2 separate regions of the Homo sapiens genome follow, and region 1 is linked to region 2. Evidence: promoter capture Hi-C in human tissues and cell types (Jung and others, 2019). All regions are on one chromosome and are shown on one strand. The core of a region is centred on a gene start or on the middle of the fragment in contact, and the rest is flanking DNA. Distances in the headings are between cores, read along the strand shown.

Region 1 (6,457 bases), core at 1-2,500, 290 kb before region 2:
GAAACCCACTCCAGAGGGAAGGGAGAAGGGTGATGAGGCAGCGGCTGGCTCCTCAAGCTGAGGGCTCCTCAAGCTGAGGGCTCCTCACCTGGGACAGGGGATCCTCATTCAACAGGGAAATGACTGAGCTGAAAGTCTCGTTTCTGTTGTCTGGATGGTTTTGGGACAGAGAAGAAATCATGGCTGAGCCCTGAGTGAAGGCTGACTTGGGCTCCCCAGCACCTGGAACCTTGGTGTCCACTGGGCCACAGTCCTTCCGCAGCAGCACGTGTCTTCCGAGCTCATCCAGGACTTGGAAGCTGCAGAGCTGGAGGGAGAGGAAGAAGCTGCTCTGGGGGCCTGGATCTGGATCTGGGGAGCAAGATCTGGCCAAGATGGAGCTGGAGGCTCCTCAGATGAGAGCCACCCCTAAGGCAATCACCCCATCACAGTGGACAGTGAGGCACGGCCTGCACCGGGGCATCCTCCCCTTCATAGCATCTTGGTTTCCAGCCCTCGGGGCCTGGGAAGTGGCTCAAGGTGGGGCAGCAGCTACCTCAGATCCCTGCGTCTTGACCTGACCCGTCATCATCCAACTGCTGCTTTACTCGGCCTCGGGGCGGGGAACCCCAAGAGCCTCATCACTCACCAGGGTTTTCTTGGACACGGGGAGCCGGCACACCATGGGGTCGTTGCAGGGTGGCTCCTCCAGGGTGGCCTCCAGGGAGTACAGCGACCCCTGACCCGCCTGGAGAGAGGAGTAGGTGAGGCGGGCACAGTCGGCCCTTGACGGCGCCCAAGGCCCCGCCCGTGCGGCGCTGCCCATTCCCCATCACCAGAGATCGGTTCGTCCAGCGGGCAGGCCCCATCCCAATGTTAGGTCAAAGCTCCTATCCCTTGGACCCGGGCCTGGCGCCCCCGCCCCCGGCGCGTCCTCACCCGGCGGACGCGGCCGCGCACAAGGCCCAGCACGGCCCGCGTCCCCGCAGCCCGGCCGCGGTTGAACATCTCCAGCGCGAAGCGGGTGGGCGCCAGCAGCTCCGGGGACGGCGGCCCCCAGGCCTGAAAGCTGGCGGCTCGGGGCTGGGCGGGGGCGGCCACTGCGCCCGGGAGCAGCCCCAGCAGCGACAGGAGCTGCAGCCAGGGCGCCATGGCGAGGGCGAAGCCGGCGGCCCGGACCCAACAGACGCTCCACCGACCCACCGGGTACCGAGCCCGCGGCCAGCGGGGCCTGAGTCCTCCCTCCAGCGGGGCGACGGCACGCCGACCAATGGGCGCTGGTTTGCGGCGCCTGCGCGTTCTCTTGTTTACAGGAGGCACGTGGGGCGCGCAGGGTAGGGAGAGCGGGAGGCTGCTGGCCTGAGGCTAAAGCTAGTCACTGACCTCTATCACGTGCTTGTTATATGTTAGGCATGATATGCCAGCTCCTTTTATTCGGCGTAGCAATCTCTGAAGTAGGTGCTATCCCCATCGTACAGTGGAGGAAACGAGGCTTGGAGAGATTAAATGGCGTGGCCGGGCTCTGTGACTCAGCCCTGTAATCCCAGCACTTTAGGAGGCCAAAGCGGGTGGATCACCTGAGGTCAGGAGTTTGAGACCAGTCTGGCACACGTGGTGAAACCCTGTGTCTACTAAAAATACAAAAAAGAGCTGGGCGTGGTGGTGGGCGCCTGTAATCCCAGCTACTTGGGAGGCTGAGCCAGGAGAATCACTTGAACCCAGGAGGCAGAGGTTGCAGTGAGCTCAGATCGTGCCATTGCACTCCAGCCCAGGCGACAAGAGCAAAACTCCGTCTCAAAAAAGAGAGAGAGAGAAATATTAAGTGGCTTGCCAAATATCTGGTAAGGAATTGAGCTAAACTTAAATCCAGGCAGTTGGCTTCTGAGCCTGGGTTTGCAGCTTGATCGCCTCTTTCAGGCCCCTCTTCTCAACAGCGAGATGGCAGGTAATTTTTTGAGTGCTGGCAGCGTCTCAGGCTGTTGTGAGGTTCAAATGCAATCATGCAAGCATTCAGTAGCCACTAAGGCAGGGTGCACAGGGTTGAGACTGTCCCTTGAAGCATTCACCTGCTGTGTTCCAGGGTCTACCAAGGGAAAGCATGCACAGATGCATTACAGGAATAGTGCTGCGTTCTTGGAGCTCACAGTCTAGAGAGAAGAACGACAGATGGGCTGGGTGCAGTGTCTCACGCCTGTAATCCCAGCACTTTGGGAGGCCGAGGCGGGCAGATCACCTGAGCTCAGGAGTTCGAGACCAGTCTGGCCAACGAGGTGAAACCCCGTCACTACTAAAAATATTTTTAGGCCGGGCGCAGTGGCTCACGCCTGTAATCCCAGCACTTTGGGAGGCCAAGGTGGGCGGATCACGAGGTCAGGAGATGGAGACCATCCTGGACAACATGGTGAAACCCTGTCTCTACTAAAAATACAAAAAAATTAGCTGGGCATGGTGGCACGTGCCTGTAATCCCAGCTACTCAGGAGGCTGAGGCAGGAGAATCGCTTGAACCAGGGAGTCAGAGGTTGCAGTGAGCTGAGAGCGCACCATTGCACTCCAGCCTGGTAAGACAGTGAGACTCCATCTCAAAAAAAAAAAAAAATTGAAACTGCCTTTGCAAAATTATGACAGTAAGAGAAATCTGACATGGCTGACTGCATCTTGCTTTCTAGCCTCACAGGCTGGCTGTCTTCACTCATTCCTGGGCATGGGCCAAGGTAACTTTTGGATAAATTTAGCTTATACTTTAAATTAGAATACGCCTTCCTGAAAACTAAACCACCCTTGTAAAACTAATGAAAGGCCACCAAGTTAGGAGGATGAGAGGGGCCTGAATTCTACTAAGATGTAGGCATAGTTAAAGGATTACCAGCCATTGTTCTGGAAGTCACAAGATTTGCAACTTTGCCAGTTACTCCTGTAATTAACATCACTATCATGGAATGTAAGACTGATCTTTTGAGCTATCTCTTCCAGGCTTTTGCATTTGTGACTATGGAATGGCCCCACACTGACGTGTGACTCCACCAGTCCTGTGACCCCTACCCAGAAGCAGACTCAGTGCAGGAGGGCCATTTTCCACACTACTATGATTTCATTCCCAAGCAATCAGTAGCACCCATATCCTAGCCGCCTGCCTACCAAACTATCTTTGAAAAACCCCGACCTCCAAGCCTTCAGTGAGACTGATTGAGTAATAACCCTGTCTCCTGTGTGGCATGGCAGGTCTTGTGTCAGTTAAACTCGTTCTTTTCTGCAATGCTATGGTCTCTGAATTGATTTTGTTTGTGCAGTAGGCAGGAAGAACCCATCTGGGAATTACAAGATCATCTAGTTCAAACCAGAATTGCTACAGCAGCAGAGGTCTAGAGAGACAAAGTGACATTCCAGCTACTCAGACATTAGTGCTGGAGCCAGAGTGGAGCCATCTCAATGCTTCCAGTTGCCAGCTGAGGTCTGAGAGGAGAGGATCTGAGGGATTGCAGCAGATACTAATCTTTCCTTGATTATGCTCTTCCCTCTGTAAATTAAAAATAAAATTCTAATCCCCTCCAACCATCTGAATGGACCCTTCCTCCCAGTCAAAGACATTCCAACGTTAACCTCAACAATGATAATAGTTCAGGCCATAATGGGAAGTGGAAGTTAGGCATGTTTCATTATACTCTCCTCCCTTTGGAATTGAGGCACAACTGACCAGCATTAACATTACAACAGAGATTTTAGGCTGGGCATGGTGGCTCATGCCTATAATCCCAACACTTTGAGAGACAGAGTTGGGAAGATCACTTGAACCCAGGAGTTTGAGACCAGCCTGGGCAACATGGCAAAACCCCATTTCTACGAAAATACAAACGTTAGCCAGGCATAACGGTGTGCGCCTATAGTCTCAGCTACTTGGGAGTCTGAAGTGAGAGGATCTCTTAATCACAGGAGGTTGAGGTTGCAGTGAACCATAATTATGCCACTGCACTACAGCGTGAGTGACAGGGCAAGACCCTGTTTCAAAAAAAACAAAAAAAAAGGGCCGGACGCAGTGGCTCACGCCTGTAATCCCAACACTTTGGGAGGCCGAGGCAGGTGGATCACGAGGCCAGGAGATGGAGACCATCCTGGCTAACACGGTAAAACCCCATCTCTACTAAAAATACAAAAAATTAGCCGGGCGTGGTGGCAGGCGCCTGCAGTCCCAGCTACTCGGGAGGCTGAGGCAGGAGAATGGCGTGAACCTGGGAGGCGGAGCTTGCAATGAGCCGAGATTGCGCCACTGCACTCCAGCCTGGGTGACAGAGCAAGACTCTGTCTCCAAAAAAAAAAAAAAAAAAAAAGCCAGAGATCTTAAGACTTTTTTGCAGTACATTCAAGAATGTAGCAATAAGACATCAAATTCGGCTGGGCGCGGTGGCTCATGCCTGTAATCCCAGCACTTTGGGAGGCCAAGGCAGGCGGATCACCTGAAGTCAGGAGTTCGAGACCAGCCTGGCCAACATGGTGAAACCCTGTCTCTAATAAAAATACAAAAATTGGCCGGGCGTGGTGGCACAAGCCTGTAATCCCAGACACTCAGGAGGCTGAGGCAGGAGAATTGCTTGAATCCAAGACGTGGAAGGTTGCAGTGAGCCGAGATTGCGCCACTGCACTCTAGCCTGAGCAACAGAGTGAGACTCCATCTCAAAAAAAAAAAAAAATTAGTGGGTCATGGTGGTACATGCCTGTAGTCCCAGCTACTCAGGAGGCTGAGGCAGGAGAATCACCTGAACCCAGGAGGCGGAGGTTACAGTGAGCCGAGATTGCGCCATTGCACTCTAACCTGGGTGACAAGAGCAAAACTCCATCTACAAAAAAAAATAAAATAAAATAAAATACAAAAATTAGCGAGGCATGGTGGTGCGTGCCTGTAACCCCAGCTATTCAGGAGGCTGAGGCTTGAATCTGGGAGGCGGAGGTTGCAGTAAGCTGGGATCGCAGCACTGCACTCCAGCTTGGGCGACAGAGTGAGACTCTGTCTCAAAAAAAAAAGACACTATCCTGACTTTAGTATCACATGATAGATATTGATGTATTTTACCCTAAAATATACTTATTTGACATACTTTGAAATGGCCCTGCAAAGCTGTCCCTGTGGGGAAAATCTACATTCTCCAGAGTCCCTTTCCATTTCTAGGTCTTTTTCCTGATCCAGGAGAGACTTCACTAAGAATTTGGCTTTTTTTTTTTTTTTTTTTGAGACAGAGTCTTGCTCTGTTACCCAGGCTGGAGTGTAATTGTGTGATCTCAGCTTACTGCAACCTCCGCCTCCTGGGTTCAAGCGATTGTCCTGCCTCTGCCTCCTGAGTAGCTGGGATTACAGGCACTTGCCACCATGCCCGGCTAATTTTTTGTATTTTCAGTAAAGACAGGGTTTCACTGTGTTGGCCAGGCTGGTCTCAAACTCCTAACCCTGTGATCTGCCTACCTCAGCCTCCCAAAGTGCTGGGATTACAAGTGGGAGCCACTGTGCCCAGCCGAATCTGGCATCTTACATATGTATGTATGTATGTACGTATGTATTTATTTTTGAGACAGAGTTTCACTCTTGTTGCCCAGGCTGGAGTGCAATGGCGCCATCTCAGCTCACTGCAACCTCCGCCTCCTGGGTTCAAGCGATTCTCCTGCCTCAGTCTCCCTAGTAGTTCCTGCCTCAGCCTCCCTCGTAGCTGGGATTACAGGCATGTGCCAGCACACCCAGCTAATTTTTGTATTTTTAGTAGAGATGGAGTTTCACCATGTTGGTCAGGCTGGTTTTGAACTCCTGACCTCGGGTGATCCACCCACTTCGGCTTTCCGGCCTCCCAAAGTGCTGGAATTATAGGCATGAGCTACCATGCCTGGCCTCTGGCATCTTTTTAAATTTGATAAGAAACATTTACAATCTATTATCTCTGAAGCTTGCTACCTGTAGGCTTCATCTGCATAATAATGTTACAGTCCGCCGGCGGGGTGGCTCATGCCTGTAATCCCAGCACTTTGGGAGGCCAAGGCGGGCGGATCACAAGGTCAGGAGATTGAGACCATTCTGGCTAACAAGGTGAAACCCCGTCTCTACTAAAAATACAAAAAATTAGCTGGGCATGGTGGTGGGCACCTGAAGTCCCACCTACTCGGGAGGCTGAGGCAGGAGAATGGCACGAACCCAGAAGGCGGAGCTTGCAGTGAGCTGAGATCGTGCCACTGCACTCCAGCCTGGGTGACAGAGCAAGACTCTGTCTCAAAAAAAAAAAGGTCTGTGTCAGGCCTCTGAGCCCAAGCCAAGCCATCACATCCCCTGTGATTTGCACGTATACGCCCAGATGGCCTGAAATAACTGAAGAATCACAAAAGAAGTGAATATGCCCTGCCCCGCCTTAACTGATGACATTCCACCACAAAAGAAGTGAAAATGGCCAGTCCTTGCCTTAACTGATGACATTACCTTGTGAAAGTCCTTTTCCTGGCTCATCCTG
Region 2 (6,391 bases), core at 1-2,500:
CATCCAACTCTCCTGGCCTACAGGAGGAACTTGTTTTCAGTGGTCAGGTAACGTGCCCAGGACTACACTGCTGTGCTGACAGGATCAGAATTCCAATCTTGGGTTTCCCCGAGTTTCCTGCCACCTGGCCCATGGGGATCAGGGCTGGAGGGAGAACGAGGATGGCTGAGGTTTAGGTGGCTTAAGGACCAGGAGACACGGGGAGGTGGTGACTTCCTGTTTCCCAACTGGGCAGACCACTGGTGGTGGCGGGCACAGCTGGAAGGAAACCAGGCTCGCCGAGCCACCGAAGCCCCAGCTTTCTCAACCAGGAAGCAAAGAACCTCCCCCACCTCACGCCGGGAGCCCTTTCTCTGAGAGGAGCTGGTTCCGAGCCGCTCTTCCAGGGAAATGGCCCGGCGGCGACAGAGCGGGAGGGAGGGGCCGCAGGCGCTGCGAGGACGCACAGCTTCCCAATGCGTGCCCCCGGCGGTTGGGAAGCCGCGCCGCGCAGACCAATCCGGCCCGAGGCGGAGGCCGGTTGGCTCCGGAACGCCTGGCCCGCGGGGCGGGCGGGGCAGCTGGGGAGGGAGGGAGAGGCGAGAGGCAGCTGGGGACAGGGCGGGGCGGCGGGGGCGGGGCGCCTGCCCGGAGGCCAAGCCCTCTCGGCCCCACCCCGCAGCAGCCCTGCCAGGGGCGCCGCCCCAGCCCCCCCCACGGCCGAACCCCGTGCCGGTTGGGGACCCTCCACGTGACTCGGTGATGCAGAACGGTTATGACCTTCAGCGTGTGTCTGTGAACGCAAGGGTCCCAGCAACAGTGCGGGTTTGCGCTCGGCCCTGCCCGTGGGTGCAGGGACGTGTGGGTGTGTGGGCATGTGTGGGTGTGTTGGGGAGGGTGCCCAGCGACATGTGACAAAGACGCCCGTCTCCGGGAGATGGTGAAGGGGCCCGCGAGCAGGCGCTTTGTCTGGCTGTCTGCAGAGTGAGGTTCGCGCCGCGGCGGCGGGCGCCCGTGCGGTGCAGGATGCCGGGGCGCCAGGATGGCCGGGGGCGCGCGCGCCTGTGCCAGGGTGAGTGCGCTGCGGCAGCGCCGGGGGACAGCGCGGAGGGCCCGCGCCGGCCCGGGCCTCGGGCGTGACTGGGCGCCACCCGTGGGCGCTGCAGCGGCCGCGTGTCCCCGTGACCTCAGGAGCCGGCCCGGGCCCGGGTGGATCCCCGCGCGCCCCTCCCCGTCCGCCCTCCACGTGCGTGTCCGCGGCGCGCGCGCCCGCCGGCGCGCACCCGCTCGCCTGTCGCCGCCGCCACCGCTAACCGCGCCGGGAAAAGGTGCCGGGAACCGAGCGAGCCGGGGCCGCGGGCCCGAGCGCCATGGGCCCGAGGGTGGGCGGCGGGCGGCCGGTCATCCCCGGGCCTCGTCCCCGCGGGAGAGCGGCCAGGAGTCGGCGGGGGCCGGCCGGGCTCGCAGGGAGGCCGGCCCGCGCCCCCTGAGCGACGGACACCAGGTGAGGGGGCCGCCGGGCGCAGCGCGGGGGCCGGCCAGGGAGGGGCCACGGACTCCACGGGAGGTTCGGGGGGCGCCTTCTCTGGCGGGGGAGGGTATGGCGGGGAGTGGGGAGGCGGCTGGCGATTCCTGGGGACGCCTGGGAAAGGAAGTTCCGGGACCCTCCCTGCTCTCGGTCCTCCTCCGCTTCCTGCCTCATGCCTCACCTTGTCCCCAGCGCCTGGACTCCCCCTTAACTGCTTGGGAAATGTGACCTTTGCTCTGGGGGGCCTGGCCCTGCAGGCCCCAACCTTCCCTCATCTCTGGCGGCCCTCTTGGGCCTCTGACCCAGCCCCTCCCCGGGCCAGGCTCACAGAAGCTGGCTTCTGGGACTGTCCTGGGCCCAAGTGGGCACCTGCGCCAGCCCCACCTGTGCCTGGGCTGTGGCCCCTTCCTACAGGGCGCTCACCATGGCCCCGCCGCTCCTGCTGCTGCTGCTGGCCAGTGGAGCGGCCGCCTGCCCGCTGCCCTGCGTCTGCCAGAACCTGTCCGAGTCGCTCAGCACCCTCTGTGCCCACCGAGGCCTGCTGTTTGTGCCGCCCAACGTGGACCGGCGCACAGTGGAGCTGCGGCTGGCTGACAACTTCATCCAGGCCCTGGGGCCCCCTGACTTCCGCAACATGACGGGACTGGTGGACCTGACACTGTCTCGCAATGCCATCACCCGCATTGGGGCCCGCGCCTTTGGGGACCTCGAGAGCCTGCGTTCCCTCCACCTTGACGGCAACAGGCTGGTGGAGCTGGGCACCGGGAGCCTCCGGGGCCCCGTCAATCTGCAGCACCTCATCCTCAGCGGCAACCAGCTGGGCCGCATCGCGCCGGGAGCCTTCGACGACTTCCTAGAGAGCCTGGAGGACCTGGACCTGTCCTACAACAACCTCCGGCAGGTGCCCTGGGCCGGCATCGGCGCCATGCCTGCCCTGCACACCCTCAACCTGGACCATAACCTTATTGACGCACTGCCCCCAGGCGCCTTCGCCCAGCTCGGTCAGCTCTCCCGCCTGGACCTCACCTCCAACCGCCTGGCCACGCTGGCTCCGGACCCGCTTTTCTCTCGTGGGCGTGATGCAGAGGCCTCTCCCGCCCCCCTGGTGCTGAGCTTTAGCGGGAACCCCCTGCACTGCAACTGTGAGCTGCTGTGGCTGCGGCGGCTGGCGCGGCCGGACGACCTGGAAACGTGCGCCTCCCCGCCCGGCCTGGCCGGCCGCTACTTCTGGGCAGTGCCCGAGGGCGAGTTCTCCTGTGAGCCGCCCCTCATTGCCCGCCACACGCAGCGCCTCTGGGTGCTGGAAGGCCAGCGGGCCACGCTGCGGTGCCGGGCCCTGGGTGACCCCGCGCCTACCATGCACTGGGTCGGTCCTGACGACCGGTTGGTTGGCAACTCCTCCCGAGCCCGGGCTTTCCCCAACGGGACCTTAGAGATTGGGGTGACCGGCGCTGGGGACGCTGGGGGCTACACCTGCATCGCCACCAACCCTGCTGGTGAGGCCACAGCCCGAGTAGAACTGCGGGTGCTGGCCTTGCCCCATGGTGGGAACAGCAGTGCCGAGGGGGGCCGCCCCGGGCCCTCGGACATCGCCGCCTCCGCTCGCACTGCTGCCGAGGGTGAGGGGACGCTGGAGTCTGAGCCAGCCGTGCAGGTGACGGAGGTGACCGCCACCTCAGGGCTGGTGAGCTGGGGTCCCGGGCGGCCAGCCGACCCAGTGTGGATGTTCCAAATCCAGTACAACAGCAGCGAAGATGAGACCCTCATCTACCGGTGAGGATGCGTGCCCCACACCCGGCTGCACTCCCGGCGCCCTTCCTCCGCCCTCTGCTCCCCACAAGGCTTTGCTTCCACCCCTCCTCTCTCTGGGGCTGACACCCCCTCCCCGACCATGGCTGCTGGACTCTTGGAGGAGCAGTGGCCTGGCCTGGCCTGGCTGCCTGAGGGGGCTGGAGCTCAAGGGGCGGCAGAAGGACCCCACCCCGAGATGTCCCAGGTGTCACTGAGCTGTGCAGGCCTCCCCGGCAGCAGGTGGCGGTTGGGTCTGTCTGAAGCACATGGCCCGCGCCCGCGTGTTATTTCTGCCTCTGCTGGTGCCATCCCCCCACCCCATTCCCCTCGCTTGCCTGCGTCCTGTGCCAGTGCACACACCCATCTCCTGGCCACACTCTCCAGCCTGTTCACCTTCCTGAGTGAACCCAAGAGCCCGAGTGGCCCCAGGGGGAGGGGTGTTTGGAGCTGGGAGCACGGGAGTGGGGAGGTGAGGATGGGGCTAGACCCCAGCCCCGGGCTCTGACCACCTGCCCTTGCCTGCAGGATTGTCCCAGCCTCCAGCCACCACTTCCTGCTGAAGCACCTCGTCCCCGGCGCTGACTATGACCTCTGCCTGCTGGCCTTGTCACCGGCCGCTGGGCCCTCTGACCTCACGGCCACCAGGCTGCTGGGCTGTGCCCATTTCTCCACGCTGCCGGCCTCGCCCCTGTGCCACGCCCTGCAGGCCCACGTGCTGGGCGGGACCCTGACCGTGGCCGTGGGGGGTGTGCTGGTGGCTGCCTTACTGGTCTTCACTGTGGCCTTGCTGGTTCGGGGCCGGGGGGCCGGAAATGGCCGCCTCCCCCTCAAGCTCAGCCACGTCCAGTCCCAGACCAATGGAGGCCCCAGCCCCACACCCAAGGCCCACCCGCCGCGGAGCCCCCCGCCCCGGCCGCAGCGCAGCTGCTCTCTGGACCTGGGAGATGCCGGGTGCTACGGTTATGCCAGGCGCCTGGGAGGAGCTTGGGCCCGACGGAGCCACTCTGTGCATGGGGGGCTGCTCGGGGCAGGGTGCCGGGGGGTAGGAGGCAGCGCCGAGCGGCTGGAAGAGAGTGTGGTGTGATGGACGGGCAGCTTCCTGTGTGCTCCAAGGGATGAGCCTCGTGGGGCAGAGGGCCCGGGGCCGCCGCCTGGCCTGGGAGTCCCTCCCTGGTTTTTATTCTCAGTACCTCAGGCTCCCCTGTGTACTTGGAGGGGCAGGGAGCCCTTTCCTCGGTTCTGGCCTCCAGACCAGGGTAAGGGCAGGCCCCTCCAACAGGTGCTCACAGCCACCGAGGCAGGGGCTGCAGCCACCCACTGGGAGTCTTGTTTTTATTTATAATAAAATTGTTGGGGACACCTCAGTGCTAGTCTCTGGTGTTGTCTGGCTAGGTCCCCCGAGACGGGAGGACAGGACACGGGCCGCTGGTGGCACACGGACAAGGGTGGGGCTACCAGGGCCGGTGGGGGCAGTCACAGCAGCCTGGGGCCTCCTGGCTTCCTGTCCACAGGGGCGGCCCAGGGCTGCGGCCAAGGGCTGTGCCTGGTGTCTTCTGACCTGCAAGAGCATGGGCTTGGGCAGGCGGCCTACCCTCGCCTGTAAGTGCAAAGAACGCCCCTTCCTGCCAGGTGGCGACAGGACGCCGTATCCAGTGTAAAGCCTGGGGAGCACGTGTGAGCGCCTTCCCCATGGCACTTCAGGGTCTGCGGGGCGGACACAGGACTGGACTAAGCAACAGGAGGAGGTGGGGGACGGTACAGCCCTCTGGGAGAACGGACCTGGGCTGAGCGTACAGTGAAAAGTCCTCATGGCTCCAGGTGCTGACAGCTGTGTCTGCCACCTCCCAGGGCATCTTGTGGACTGGTAAAACGCCATCCCAAAGGGACTGGAAGGGCAGGGAACCCCACTGCTCTGCCATCAGCCCGTGATCCTCTGGAAGGTTCCTGTCAGAACTGTGGGTCCGAGCAGGACCGCAGCTGCCAGCTCAGATGTGCTCTGGGCCTTCCTGGGAAGGCGGCCTTCGCCCTCCCTCGCTGCAGGGAGGCAGCCGGATGGGCACGAGCCCTGCTTTCTCTGCTAGGACCCCTGGCCAGGCCCGGGCAGCCTCCGACCTGGCCCAGCCCCTGCAGCCTCCTGAACTATCTGCTTCTAGGCACTGGCTGGGGGGCATGGGCAGACGTGGCCCTCAGCCCTGCAGAGGGTCAAGCTCCCCCAGGTGCTGTATGAAAACTCAGAAGGCGGCCCTGGCACCCCAGGCCACGGCAAACACGCTGCACAGACTCCCTGGTGTTTTCTGTGTGAGGGCCAAGGCGCTGCCACCGGGCAGCCGAGGTGAGGCAGGTGCTCTAAGGCATACGTGTGTTCACGTGTGCATGGACCTGGCTCACACGCGTGTGCCTGCCCTCCCAGCCCCAGAACATGCAGCTAGAGGTGGGCTTCGAGAGCCTGGTTTAGATGAATGGGAGCAAGGTCCTCGACAGAGAAGGGTGTGGGGAGCGAACGCCATGGAGGAGTGGGCGGGGGCGCGGGACAGGGTGGGTGGGCACAGACGGCAAAGGGACAGGAGGGCCAGGGCTGCCACGCTGGGCGCTAGCATGAGGCTCAGGAGGCGGCTAGAGCCAGCGGCCTGGTCTTGGTGCACATTTGGGGAGGACTTGGCACCCCCAGACACCAGAGACACTTATCCTGCTGCTGGCCCCGTGGTCACGGTCTCTAGTGCCCCTTTCTCCACCTGGGGGGCGGGGGACGGTCTAAAGAGGAAGATCTTTCCGGGCCCTCCAGGGTGCAGAAGCCCACCTCTAGCTGCACCCCTAGCAGGCGCAAGGTTCTAGGGCCCAGGGACCAGCTTGGCACGTGGGGAGCTGCTGAGGGTGAGGAGGGAGCAGAGGAACCGGGCACAACCCCAGGAGCCAGCCAGGACCACAGAGCAACGGGCAGGGGCAGGCGAGGGGGATGGCCTGGGTCACCCCTGTGCATGGCCACGCATCCCCTCAACACCGAAGCAGCCGCAGGACATCCCCGCCAGGACACCAGGAGCCGCAGCAAGGTGCAGGGGGAGCGCGTGATGTCGACAGCTGATGTCGCGACACACC

Evidence for each region. The method cuts DNA at HindIII sites, captures the fragments that hold promoters and counts their contacts. A contact is called where the count stands out against the background at its distance.
Region 1: a contact is called between the fragment with the promoter of CTSF here and the fragment with the promoter of LRFN4 in region 2, in 1 of the 25 tissues and cell types used here (dorsolateral prefrontal cortex).

The regions. Positions count from the first base shown.
Region 1 is chr11:66,567,356-66,573,812 of GRCh38, forward strand. CTSF (cathepsin F) reads right to left here and starts at 1,251. Exons shown (of 13, transcript NM_003793.4): 1 at 919-1,251; 2 at 629-727; 3 at 89-307. The coding sequence starts at 1,131. RefSeq lists silencers at 1,300-1,369, 2,743-3,037 and enhancers at 5,617-6,368, 6,369-6,457. The HindIII fragment of the contact is 11,953 bases long and covers 1-6,457 here.
Region 2 is chr11:66,855,814-66,862,204 of GRCh38, forward strand. LRFN4 (leucine rich repeat and fibronectin type III domain containing 4) reads left to right here and starts at 1,251. Exons shown (of 2, transcript NM_024036.5): 1 at 1,251-3,280; 2 at 3,824-4,662. The coding sequence starts at 1,932. The coding sequence ends at 4,382. All of the region lies in intron 12 of PC (pyruvate carboxylase), which reads right to left. RefSeq lists silencers at 337-866, 1,027-1,136. The HindIII fragment of the contact is 20,544 bases long and covers 1-6,391 here.